Regions from separate parts of the Homo sapiens genome. Here region 1 is linked to region 2. The links are contacts of gene promoters, found by promoter capture Hi-C in blood cells and fetal thymus (Javierre and others, 2016). All regions are on one chromosome and are shown on one strand. The core of a region is centred on a gene start or on the middle of the fragment in contact, and the rest is flanking DNA. Distances in the headings are between cores, read along the strand shown. Region 1 holds the start of FAM20B (FAM20B glycosaminoglycan xylosylkinase). Region 2 holds the start of PRRC2C (proline rich coiled-coil 2C).

The links. Contacts are between HindIII fragments. The CHiCAGO score rates a contact against its expected background, and 5 or more counts as called.
Region 1: a contact is called between the fragment with the promoter of FAM20B here and the fragment with the promoter of PRRC2C in region 2, in 1 of 17 cell types (total CD4 T cells). The highest score is 8.1, in total CD4 T cells.

Annotation. Positions count from the first base shown.
Region 1 is chr1:179,023,271-179,029,723 of GRCh38, reverse strand. FAM20B (FAM20B glycosaminoglycan xylosylkinase) reads right to left here and starts at 3,830. Exons shown (of 8, transcript NM_014864.4): 1 at 3,626-3,830. RefSeq lists silencers at 56-350, 3,044-3,783, 3,824-4,013 and an enhancer at 119-994. The HindIII fragment of the contact is 5,476 bases long and covers 2,366-6,453 here.
Region 2 is chr1:171,482,124-171,488,819 of GRCh38, reverse strand. PRRC2C (proline rich coiled-coil 2C) reads right to left here and starts at 3,290. Exons shown (of 35, transcript NM_001387844.1): 1 at 3,085-3,290. RefSeq lists enhancers at 2,737-3,485, 3,392-3,701. The HindIII fragment of the contact is 3,004 bases long and covers 481-3,484 here.

The DNA.
Region 1 (6,453 bases), core at 2,581-5,080, 7.5 Mb before region 2:
CCCTCTGTACTTGGTTCTGTCCTCTTTACACATTCATAATTTCATATTCCTTGACCTGCCTTTATAACGTGCCCAAGTTAGCACCCTCTTCTCTAAAGGGGTTATCTTGCCAGAAAGTACAGACCTTAAACACACACCAAAGCTCAAGGTCTCTTCTGCATCAGCTTACATTTTTCTCTTATCTCACACTGGGATGACAGACGCACCCATCTGTCATGTAGATTCTTTACATCCCAAGCTAGGCATTTCTTCTTTTGTTTTTGGTAAGAAAGACCAAATCAGAAGTGAGATCTTTGCATTATTTTCTCTTCTAGGCAGCTCGAGCAGTCATGCTGACATTGTAAGTTAGTCAGAAGCTGGTTTCAATAGCAAAGTAAGCTTCTGTTCTGCAGCCCAGGCCTATGTTAAAGAATTCATTAGTACTTGGGGTTACAGAGACAGCTGAAGGAAAACAGGAAGATATATGTAGGTGTAGAAGAAGGAACTGCTGGAGAAGTACTCTTAAAAAGGGATAACTCCCCTCTTCCACCGTCAAAATAAGGGACAAGGGCAGTCAGGTCAATGCTATTGACATGGCCATTGCCAAGAGCTCTAAGTTCTTCTATTAATGCAAAAACACTGGCTATCAATCCAACTGCCCAATTAGCCTAGCCAGAACAGACTGTAGGAGCAAGGTTGTGAAGCTGCACTTGACTGGAACCTGCACAGGCTACTGCCAGGCTCCAGGTGGTTTAGAACACCATATAATCACAGAAGCAAATAACACACCTCTACAGAATATTTTGAACAGTAATCCGAAACACATTTTCTACGCTTTTTTTTTCTTTTGACAAAAAGAGGAACTAAATAATTTAGTATATACATTAGAATATTTCCCCTTCCCTCATACTGTTTTCCATTTATTCATTCAACTGACGAATATTTATTGTGCACCTTCTACATACAGGCACTGTCAGGTGCAGAGAGAAAAATACACAGATACACAGATTACTGTAACAATTACAACAAACTGTAGGGCCTCATTGTAACTGTGTTCCCCATCCCAATCCACAAAACCACCTGGCACTTAGTCCCAGAAGGACTAAGAGTCAGATTCAGAAGACAGTCTCCTTCTGTTGTTGTTGTTGTTTGTTTGTTTGTTTTTTGAGACGGAGTCTCACTGTCAGCAGTCTGGAGTGCAGTGGTGCAATCTCAGCTCACTGCAACCTCTGCCTCCTGGGTTCAAGCGATTCTCCTGCCTCAGCCTCCTGAGTAGCTGGGACTACAGGCGTGCACCACCATGCACAGCTAATTTTTGTATTTTTAGTAGAGACGGGGTTTCACCATGTTGGCCAGGATGGTCTCAATCTCTTGACCTCGTGATCCGCCTGCCTCGGCCTCCCAAAGTGCTGGGATTACAGGCATAAGCCACCGCGCCCGACCAACTGTCTTTTTATGTATTCTTACAGAATACAAAGAACGCCCTCCTGCTTCTGTTATGAGATTGTGGCAATCACCAAAAGACAACCTCTGTGGTTAGCTATTTTAAAAAGTTATCAATTCAACAGCTGAAGTATCTGGCTTTAGGGTTTTACACTAATGAAATGATTTTAGGGTTTTACACCAATGAAATGATAGACACACAAAGTGTGGGAAGCTGAAGTCTGCCCTAAAACTGAAGGAACAGAAAGTTTCATTTAGGAATTTAAAATTCAGAAGAGATAAGAAGCAGAAACTTTAAGGCTGTGTGAAAGGGCTGGAATCTACAAATGGAAATCAAGGGAATGAACTAAAAGTCAAGGAATTATCAATTTAACATAAAATACTTCCATGATATAAAAGATTATAAAAATAAAGATGATAGAAGCAGTGATGTGTTTTTTCTCTAATCTTAAGAACCAAAAAGAAAAGCAGTGTATGTGTTTTCTAGTTTCCATTCATTCACCAAAACATAGCTACTGTCCTACCAGTTCTAGAGAAACGAATAGAGCATACCAATGTCACATTTTCACCACACAGAAAAGAAACGCTGTGAACTCCAAGATGTCTTGATCATCTTTTACCTGTATCCATATTTATCACTGCACTTTATCATGAGTGAGGCTGAGAGTCTGAATTATACTTGTGTGTGCCTTTGTATTCTCCTTTGATAAGTAATTTCAAATGGGAAAGGGACTCCTGCTGACTGATTCCATTGTACGGTTCGAGAGGCCAAAGTCCAACATCTTTGCAAACTTTAGAAAAGTTATTAATAGAATACATTGATTTTAAATCTCCCTGAGATTGGCTATGAGTCTGGGCAAATAATTTAGCATCTTTACCATTTGTACCTCAGTTTCTCAGACAGTCGTGATAACGAATCATATTTGAGGAAGTGCTCTAAGCTTAGCTCAAAGATCCTGCATAAACTCAAGGAATGTTTGTAATACATAAGAACACTGAGATCTCTAACCAGATTTTTAGAAATCAACGCCAGTGAAATTTTTGCAAGAATTTACAACGCAAAAAACATAGGCGTGGCTAATAAATGGCAATAGTAATTTGTACCAGATTATAGATTTATAAAGTCCTACAGTTTAAAGGCTAAAGGCTAAAAAAAACCCCACATTCCTACTTCCCTTCCAAGTGAGAAATCAAACCTCCAGAGGGAAGCTGGCTGGGTGGGGAAGATGCTGATATCTGGCACTAGACCCAAGTCGCAATAGCAAGCAACTCTCATTTTCCCAAATTAGAAACTCCTTATCCATCCCAATGATGGTATGGTCTTTAAAAGGACTAATAATTCCATTAAGACTAACCAAGCCCTGTTACCCCTACTTTCCCTCCAATCCATCCTTCTACCCCTTCTCTTCTTATCCGGAGACTGGCAGGTTAACAGAAGTCAGATTAGAATGAATCTCTTATCAGAACCCACAATCAAGGACGCAGCTCGACAACTATTCACATTCATCATTAAGGGAAACGTATCGGTCCGCTCTTAATCGCGGGGCCGTCACACCCGGAAATGAAATCTCAAGCGCAGCCCACTGAGGGCTAACACAGCATTCGTTAAGTTGTGCCCTTCTGCGAGCGCCCGGCGCAGGACCCCAGGAGACCGCGGGCCCCGGGCACGGTTGCCCCGCCTTCCGCCTCCGGCCTGCAGGTCACTCGCGCTTCCCGGCCACGAGGCGGGCCCAGCAAAGACCCCGCGAGGGCGCGCTCCCTGGGCTGCCTCAACGGGCGCTCCGGGGAACACAAGAGAGGCACCGGGGCCAATCGCCTCTGGGGACCGCGCAAGGGGACGAGAGACGGTCACTAGAAGGACCTCTGGCAGCCTGAGGCGGCCCCAGGTGGGCCCGCGCCTCAGGTGGGCCAGGGACGTGGCGGCCGAGGCCGCGTCCCTTCAGCCGCGACCGCACACAGGGACACGCGGCCCGAGCGGGTCTCCCAGGAAGCCTCGGGCCCTCGCCCGGGACCCGCCCGCAGCCACTCGGGGACGGCTCAGGGCACCCGGTGCCCGGCCCCTCAGGGAGGCGCCCCGCCCCCAGGCGGCCCCAGCCCGGCGCGCGCTACGTACCGTGCCCCGCCCGCGTGCCGGTCCGCATTTTCCCGCCCGCCGCGCCGGGGGCGGGGGTCGCGCGCCCTCCCCCGCCCCCGCGCCACTCACCTGTCGGGCCCTAGGCTCGCTCCATGGCCGCCCGCGCGGTGCGGTGCGGCGCGGCCCCGGCCGCCCCCGCCGCCTCCGGGGAGGGGCAGCCCCACGCCGCGCTCACCGCCCCCAGCCGCCGCCGCCGCCACAGCGGCTCCGGCCCACCCCCGGCCCGGCCATTCCCAGGCCACCTCTCGCCGCGCAGAGCGGCAGTCCCACACCCACCCCCCCGCCTCCGAGGCCCCCGGCTGTTGGTACCGTCCTAGCGTAGCGCCTGCCCGACGGCCAATCCCAGCGCTCGCTCGGCGCGGCCCCGCCCCCGCCCAGTAGGCGGCCCCTACCGGACCCGCTCCGGACTGCCCCCCTTAACCTCTTCCATACCGGGCCCGTCCGCTTAACTCCCTCGGCGCCGGCGCCGGTCTCCTGCCGGCCGCGCCGCCCTGCCCGCTTACATAAACTGGCCTCTCACTTCTCACTTCCTTCGCTCTTTTTTCTTTTTCTGTATTTGTCCTCCATCCCCCACCCCGTCTTCTCTTTTTCTTTCCTGCTTTTCTTAGGTAGGTAGGCAGCCAAGCAGCAGGACTGGAGAGTTGCGGTCCCCTAGGTCGAGTTCTGTTTGTGAGAAGCATTTTCCCTCCTCCTGTTGCCTTTTTAATTTGCCTTGACTTCTGCTCGGAACTTCTGCCTATCTAAATGTATCCCCCGCTTCTTTTGCCCAGAAAAAGGCTAGCCTTTCCACACTGAGTGCAAATGGCTCTTCATTCGGACCAGAGCGGAGCGTCCTGCTACATACTTTCAGGAGCATCTCACAAAATTATGATTCATTTACTGTAATATTAGTTGTTTTACATCTGTTTTTTGCTAAGGACCGTAAGCCCCATGAGGGCAGGTCAGTCGCTCCTGGGTCGCCAATGCCCGACCGTAGTGCACCCAGTGGGCGCGGATAAATCGTGTGAATGAAAGATTCTGCCTTCCCTTTGTTTGCTTTCAGCTGACTTATACAGAGCCGCCACTGTGTCCATCCATTTATTCACCATATACTAAAGCGCAAACTTAGTGTGCCTGACCCTGAAATATAATGCAGGTTACTCCATGGAATAAGATGCGTGATGGGGAAAGACTGAGCTGACACTTTTTCTTCAGGCCACATAGTTCATTTAATCAGTAAGGCGTACTGAACAGAATTCTTTCTTACTGGCTGTATGATACTGGATGTGCCAGTTAACTTTGCTGAGCATCAGTTTCCTTAACTGGAAAATGGGAGTTAATAACTTCACAGGGTTGTTGTAAGGATTAAGTTAGGAAATGTATGGGGAAAGTACTCTAAGATTATTGTGTATGATTAGGTGTTATTCGTCTGTATATTTGCTGAGCATTTACTATCAGGAGATCCTAGAGAAATAATTGGGCTTGACACTTGCTCCGGACAATGTAGTTAGGGAGGCAGCATTAATCACTGCAGGAGACGTACAGTCAAATGCAGAAGGCATTGTATTAGCTTTTTGCTGCGTGTAGTTGAAAAGGTTTGGAGGTTTGGAGGTCGTTTTCTGGCCGGAGAATACATAATTCTTGGGAAAATGAGCTGGAAGATAATGAGAATCTACCTTATTTCTCTGCACAGGAAGATCAGTCTGCCTGCAGTTAGCTAATCTCCCTGAACCTTGCTCACTACATCAGGAGACCATAAAGCAAAAGGGTAAATCAACAGTTCCTTTAAGACACTTTATCCAAAAGGATTCTCCTTTCTTGCCTGTAACTCTGACAAGGACAGTGAGGGTGAACGCTCCAACTGTCACTGTTCAGGAAAAGGCCAGCTTATCCTGCAGCCTCAGCTTCCTGGGCGGATGATCCCTTCTGTCTTTAAGGATTTTCAGGTGAGGGCAGGGGGCAGTCATTGCCTCTCCAAGCAACCCACTTCAGTGCTTAATTTCGCATCCATCTATCCATCCCACATACTGCAGGACAGACACACTTCCTCCTTTTCTGTCCTCAGAGAAGGAGAGCTATGGGTTCAGGGCCTCTCTGTGAAAGGCTTTCAGACGACAAAATTGTTCTGCCCCCCAGTTTTCCCTTCTCCATGTTGCATTACCCAGGCCCTTGTTGAGTGTATGCATAGCACCAGCACCGTGCCTGACACTCCATGATGTCAGTTTCTGCCCCCTCCGCCTGTACGGGATTATTTTCCAACCAATCAACAGTCAATATATTCTAAGTATTGTGAGGGATGCAATCATTTAAGAAGGGCGTTTACATGACTAGCACACAGGAAGCAGCTGCAAGGAATAGGGACACTTAAATTATGCAGCACAGACTCTGTGATCACTGAAAGAATCACAGTCCAGGAAAACAGTGTGGGCTGGTATTGAGGTGAGCAAAATACAGGTAGGAGAAGAGAGGAACAATATGAACCAAAGTTAGGCAGTGCTCTGTGAACTTACAGCCGCCATCTTCAGCAGATCCTGCGTGACAGGAGAATTGTTCATTTGTTTGTTTATTCATTCATTCACTGATGCATACATTCATTCATTTAATGAATGTCTACCAAGTGCCAGGCACTGAGCTACCAGACCATGCAGAGATGAAGAAAGCCTGGTTCCCATTCTTGAGAAGCTGGCAGGAACCCCAATTAAGGAGGTCTGAGCACTTTGTCAAGACTCTTGTGATGCTCCTTTTACCACTCATACGATGTATGGTTCTACATGTCGTTGTCTAATCTCCTCTTTGCCCTTCTTCCTTGTTCCCAAACTGCAAGGATTTTTAAAGACATACACTATTTCATCTTTATTCCCACTTGTAGAGTGCCTCATACGAAGTACCTTCTCCACATTGATGTGTTGAAGCTCACT
Region 2 (6,696 bases), core at 2,041-4,540:
GTGTTCAGACTCTTAGTTAACAGTCTAAGAGTCTAGTTAATCATGTCTGCCAATCAGATAAAAATTTCCGGTTGAAACTAAGTAACAGTCCTTGTTTGACTGGATTTGCCAGCAAATACATGTAGTCACAGGCCCCAAAACATGCTTTCTGATAATCTGGAGGAAAATAAGGACTAGAAATGTAACTGGCAATGCTGGGAGCAATGGTAGGCACTTCTAGTCCCAGCTACCTGGGAGGCTGAGGCAGGAGATTCTCTTGAGCCCAGGAGTTGGAGGCCAGCCAGGGCAACAGAGTTAGGTCTGTCTCTTAAATAGAAAATTTACTAAAGTTACCCTCTCTATAGAACGCTTTTATCCACAAAGGTGTTCTGGCTCATGCATCGATGAGATTAGCGAGGAATTTAAAATGTTATTACTCATAAAACTAACACAGTAACTCTCAGACTTGTAAGCAACAATTAACATAGACTGAGATAAGCTTTCATTGTGTTGTCCTATTCATAAGGTGACAAAATCACGATTTACCGAAATGAAAGTGTGTCATAACTCAGACACAATTTTTGTATGTCCTTCACTGTAAGAATACAATTCTGTACTAACTTATGTAACATTTTACCAATGATCAATTCTTGTCATTTACAAATATGACATAAATAGCATCCAAAACACAAGTTACCTAACTAACAAACTGAAGTAGTGTTTAGGGGTGGCACTTGGAGGCAGACAGGGATATAATATAATCTTCAAAGACATTTTATCACTAAAGAGGGTGGGGTGGGGGTAAGAAGAAGAGAGGGGGCTGGAATGAGCCAGAACTTCTGCATTTTCAGCTATGAACAAGATACTCATCCCAGGGATATTTACTGTAGAGCATAAAGAAATCGCTAAGAAGCAAAATCCTGCATATAAGTAGACATATCAGGGATAAGGGGAGGTGAAATTTTCTTATGTACCTAAAGAAATATATACATCACCCTGAGAATTTACAGATTATTTATTGCTTGGAAGAGAGTATTTTCTTCTACCAATATCCTACCATTCTCCCTCCACTATTAGTTGACCTTTTACTATGCACTAAGCATAGTAATAAGCCCTTTACATACATTATCCATTATCTTTTTTTACTCCTATAAAAGCCTCTGAGGGAAGTCCTATTATCATCACCATTTTACAGATGAGGGAATATTCTACCAATAATATAGATCAGACGCCTAAATTTAAAAATTATATCTACGACATGGTAGAGTTAGTTTTAAGTTATCTCTAAGCACTCAAATAGAAAAGGACACAAAAAAATTAGCCTCTACCCCAAGTCCAAAGTGGATATATTCCATTTTTACAACTTTCAAAACTTTAACCTTAGCATGCAACAATATTCATATACTAGTCAAGCTAAAGAAAAACTACTAGTTAATAATGCTTTATCTTATTTAGTTACTGTAGTTTATAATTTAAAAAGCAGGTTGAAGGTTTAGAGCATCCCCTTTGGGTTCAGACAGTATGGAATTGAACCTACACAATACCACCAATAACTGCTATGTGACCTTGGTCAGACTACTCTCTCAGATTTCATTTCCTCATCTGTAAAATGGGGATGATCTTAATAGCACTTTTCTCAAAGGTCTGTTGTGGAGATTAAAAAAAAAATGTATGAAAAGGACTTATTACTGTGCTCAGTGTATAGCAAAAGGTCACCTAATGGAGAACAGCCACACATAAGCTAAGCAGAGCAAACACAATCACTTAAAAAGGCTATATTCTGAAAATCCACTTACAGAAAAGGAGAGAATTACTATTTGACTACATGCTAAAGACAAAATTCAAGTTCAATTTATTCCTAATTTTTTAGGGGATCAATGCATTTGGGGTGAGCCAGAAAAGATGCTGCAGTGCATCTGTGACACACACCTAAAAATGGCTCCAGTCAAAGCAGCATCTTAATTACCAATATGGGAGGTGAAATCTAGTTTTGAAAAATGGTGGGGTTAGGCTTGGTAGGTGCTTAGTATCACCCTATTATTTTTATTTGCAGGAGTAAGCTATTAAGTACTCAACAATCAAAAAATCCTCCGATTCTTCTGGTGCATTCCAAATGAAAATCTTACAGCAGAGCCGCCTACTGTACAATTCTAAGTACTCTAACGAGGTATGAATCTATGAACCCAGGCTGAAAACCAGCCAATGCGGAAATCCAGGTAGCTTTATAAGCCAGCAAACATCAGGCATGTCAGACCCTCAAAAGATCCCAAATAATGTCAAAACACACATACATCCCTTTAAATTAAAGGTACTCCTCTCATGCAAAGGAAGGAAGACTCTATCAATGTCTCTATAGTGGCCCCATGCCCTTTTCTTCAGTCCTAAAACGGGGCCTTTACCCTGACACCACCAATATCAACGCTATCTCAAAGACAGGGAGCTACCGAGATTCACCACGCAAGTTAGAGGATGGAGCGGCCTAGAGTGTGAAAAGACTACCCAAATCCTCCTCCGGAGTTGGGCAGCACTTCCCTAGCGGAAGTAGGGTTGGTCTTGATTCCCCGAAGAGCCTCTCATCTAACCAGGTCTTTAAACCAGACCCTCCCATACATTGCTCATTGCAAGTCCCACCCTCACTACACAGGAAGAGGTAGACAGTGAAAGCCCCGGCTGAGTCCTTCAGTTGTTTGGGGAAACGCATACCCGACACTAAAAAAAAAAAAAAAAAAAAAAGACTTCACGTCCGCCAGTCCAGGAAGACGGAAACCCCCTTCGCTTACCCGGCAACATGCGTAATCCCCTCGCAGGGCCAGGACTGGGGTCTAGGTGGGAGCAAGACAGACCGGTCCAGAACTCCCGCTGCAGACCACATGGGGCGGGTCTGACTCCGGTTTCCCGCTCCCCAAGCTGGAGGCCGACTTCCCCAGACACAGAGATGATGGTAACCAAACAGAAGGGAAATGCCCGGACCCAAGGCCCTCTCCACGCGGCCCCCTAGCCTCCGGGCGCCAGGGTCTGGGTGCGCTCCCACGCCCCAGGCCGCACTCTGGCCGTTCCCGATGGGGCCCTCTTTGATCGCGGCCCCCACACCCTCGCTTTCCTTACCGGTCAGGGTGAGTGTCAAGTTTGCGCACTTCGAGGGTCTCCGCCGATCTCTGATCGAAAGAAGGGGGAGGGAAAGCTGGGGTTAAAGGGGTGGCCGGAAGGGCCACCAGACTGGAAAAGCCGAAGCTGCGGATGGACAAACCGCCAAAGCACTTTCGCAGCTTTCCGAGGGGGAGCGAGCGAGCGAGAAAAAGAAGCAAGATGGCGGCTAGCCAGCCCCTACGTACTACGTCATGACGCTAAGTACGTAGGTCAAATCTCCGCAAGACCACACTCCTGCGCAGAGACGGCCGGATCACGTGAAGCCTCCGTGGCGGCCCAACCCCGACAGAGGGTGCTGGCGCTTCCTGCTGGACGGAGGGAGTTTCTGCAATCAGAATTATCTTTTCAGGACAAAGCTTGGACCTGAGACCTTTCTAAGAAGTCTTGAATTGACCACGTTTACAAGTTGATAATAAGCCTCAGTGAAATGAGCACTCTTATGTCTGGTGGGTGGATGTGTAAATGGTTGAACCAGCAGTTCGCCAGTATGTCTCAGTGAATTTGGGGCAAGCTGAGAAGTCTTGGTGTATTGAAAAGTTATCACAGAGAGTGAAAGTAAAACTAGTGTGAGGAACAGAGTAGCATGGGCTGCTGAGAGCACTTTTTAAGTTTCTAATTATGGATGTGAGATAAGCCATTCAGTTTATTTATATGATCTCTCCATCACAGTGTTCAGCTCCGTTGAATAGTAAGATTCACCCATGCTGGCTTTTACTAGGCAAGTGTAACATAGGCAGATGAGTGTATCTGGAAGTGGGAGACTACAATGATGATAATATTATGTCAGAACAGATGGCGAATGTTTAGTAAATGGTATCTTTTGTCCTCTTTGTGAACTACCTATGACATATTTAAAATTCAAGGATTTCTTACCACTTCTGGTCTGAACGATCTTCCCCGCCAGTAGCTGGTGTATGTCCATGGAATTGTCACTGTAGCAATGTTAGAATAAATGAAATAATAAAGAGAGGTAAATTATGAACACCTCCCTCCCCACTAATATTAATTTGAAGTAGAAAAGTCTGGACTTGCTTGGTGGCTCATGCCTGTAATACTAATACTTTGGTAGGTCAAGGCAAAAGGATTGCTTGAGACCAGGAGTTCAAGACCAATCTGGGCAACATAGTGAGACCCTACCTCTGCAAAAAAATTAAAAAGAAAAAAAGCTAGCTAGGCATAGTGGCACATGCTTATAGTCCTAGCTACCTGGGAGGCTGGAGGCAAAAGGATCACTTGAGCACAGGAGGTTGAGGCTGCAGCGAGACTCTTTCTCGAAAAAATAGAAAAGAAGAAAAGAAAAAGTTTTTTTATTGATATAGGGTCATTGCCAGGGGAAAGCCTACTGATCATCCACAAGAGGACAAGGAAGCATTACTTTAGTGAATTTCTACAACCTTCTAGGATCTGGTCTATAGTGTCCTGGTCACAGAAACATCTTTCTTTGTTTTTTTGGAGGCAGGGTCTCACTTTGCTGCCCAGGCTGGAGTGTAGTGGCATAATCACAGGTCACTGAAGCCTCAACCTCCCAGGCTCAAGCAATCCACCTGTCTCAGCCTCCCAGGTAGGTGGGACTACAGGTGCTTGCCACAAAACCTGGCTTTTTTTTTTTTTTTTTTTTTTTTTTGCCAGTAGAGACGAGGTCTTGCTATGTTGACTGGGCTGGTTTCGAACTCCTGAGCTCAAGCAAGCCTCCCGCATTGGCCTCCCAAAGTGCCGGAATTACCGGCATGAGCCACCACGCCCAGCCAAATCATCTGTCTTGAGCAATGGAGAACAACTTCAGCAATCAGATGAAATTACATTAACCAAGGTCATAAGACTGACACGTATGGCCGGGCGCGGTGGCTCACGCCTGTAATCCCAGCACTTTGGGAGGCCGAGGCGGGCGGATCACAAGGTCAGGAGATCGAGACCATCCTGGCTAACACGGTGAAACCCAGTCTCTACTAAAAAATACAAAAAAAAATTAGCCGGGCGTGGTGGCGGGCGCCTGTAGTCCCAGCTACTCAGGAGGCTGAAGCAGGAGAATGGCGTGAACCCAGGAGGCGGAGCTTGCAGTGAGCACAGATCCTGCCACTGCACTCCAGCCTGGGCAACAGAGCGAGAGAGCGAGACTCTGTCTCAAAAAAAAAAAAAAAAAAAAAAAGACATGTATTAAATTATTAATTTCTAAGAGCTTTAATTTATACACCTGAACACTCAACAACTGCAAAGCCAATACTTTTTTTTTCTTTTTTTCTTTTAATTTTTGCCAGAAACAGAAAGCCTCCGGTATGCCAGCATGGACCCAAGGTGCTATCTTTTCTTGAGTACATTTTCTCATTTCCCTCCCCTCCCCTCCCCTCCCTCCCTCCTTCTCCCCTCCCCTCCCTCCCTCCCTCCCTTCCCCTCCCCTCCCTCCCTCCCTTCCTTCCTTCCTTGCCTGCCTGCCTTTTCTTCCTTCCTTCCTTCCTTCTTTCTTTTTTTTTTTCCCCATGGAGTCTCACTCTGTTGTCCAGGTGGCGTAATCTCAGCTTACTGCAACCTTCACCTCCCAGGTTCGAGCGGTTCTCCTGCCTCAGCCTCCCGAGTAGTTGGGATTACACAAAGGCGCCACCACGCCCAGCTAATTTTTGTATTTTTGGTTGAGATGGGGTTTCGCCATGTTGGCCAGGCTGGTCTCAAACTCCTGACCGCATGTGATTCGCCTGCCTCAGCCTCCCAACGTGCTGGGATTACAGGTGTGAGCCACTGTGCCTGGCCCCGCTGAGTGCATTTTCTGTGTAGCCAAACCTACTCAGGAAACCAAGGCATTATCAGAAGGTTGCTTGATGAGCACATATTCTGAACAAGTGGAGTTATATGTATAGACTTTTCTTGAGTCATCTATCTTCACAACAGGAGAATTTTGTCCCGAAAATAGAAGTTCTCAATTTCCAATGGCTGCAGTTGCCCGCATTGATCTCCAATATAGTGGTGACATCCTGCTGAGCTGCTGATTTGTGCTCCTTGTCTCCTTAGCAGCACTTGGATGGCCACTGACCCTAAAGTGCCCCCTGTACGTTACTTTCTCTGTTTCCATGGCTACCCAAACCTCTTTGCAATATTATTTCAATAAAAATCAAGTTACAGTTAAATCAAACCAGTTTGTGTTTTAAAGGTGACTTTGCTTATTTCTGCTCCTAGCTATGTATGTGATCTTAAAGTCTAACTTTTAGAGAGCAGTCTTACTGCCTTTGTTTCCAATTTATTGGGGAAAATGTGACTGAAGTCTCCTTGACTTGGATTGCACTTCTCCTGACACTCCACCATTGTAGACAAATTTGTTATAACAAAAATGTCTTCATGACAGATTGAATGAAAACTTTTCATTTAATTTACAACACTTCTATTTAAACAATAATTTTAGAATAACATTATCAAATTTCCAATTGGGTGGTGTGGAATCAGGCAAACTAGTTTCTTACTGAAAACAAATTCACTCTCCAAACAATATGACGTATTTTCTTTGTGATTGTCCAGCCTTATTTGCTAATGATTTAATGAGTTTCTACCCTTCTCATTGTGATTGATTCCATAATCCTGTAGGCA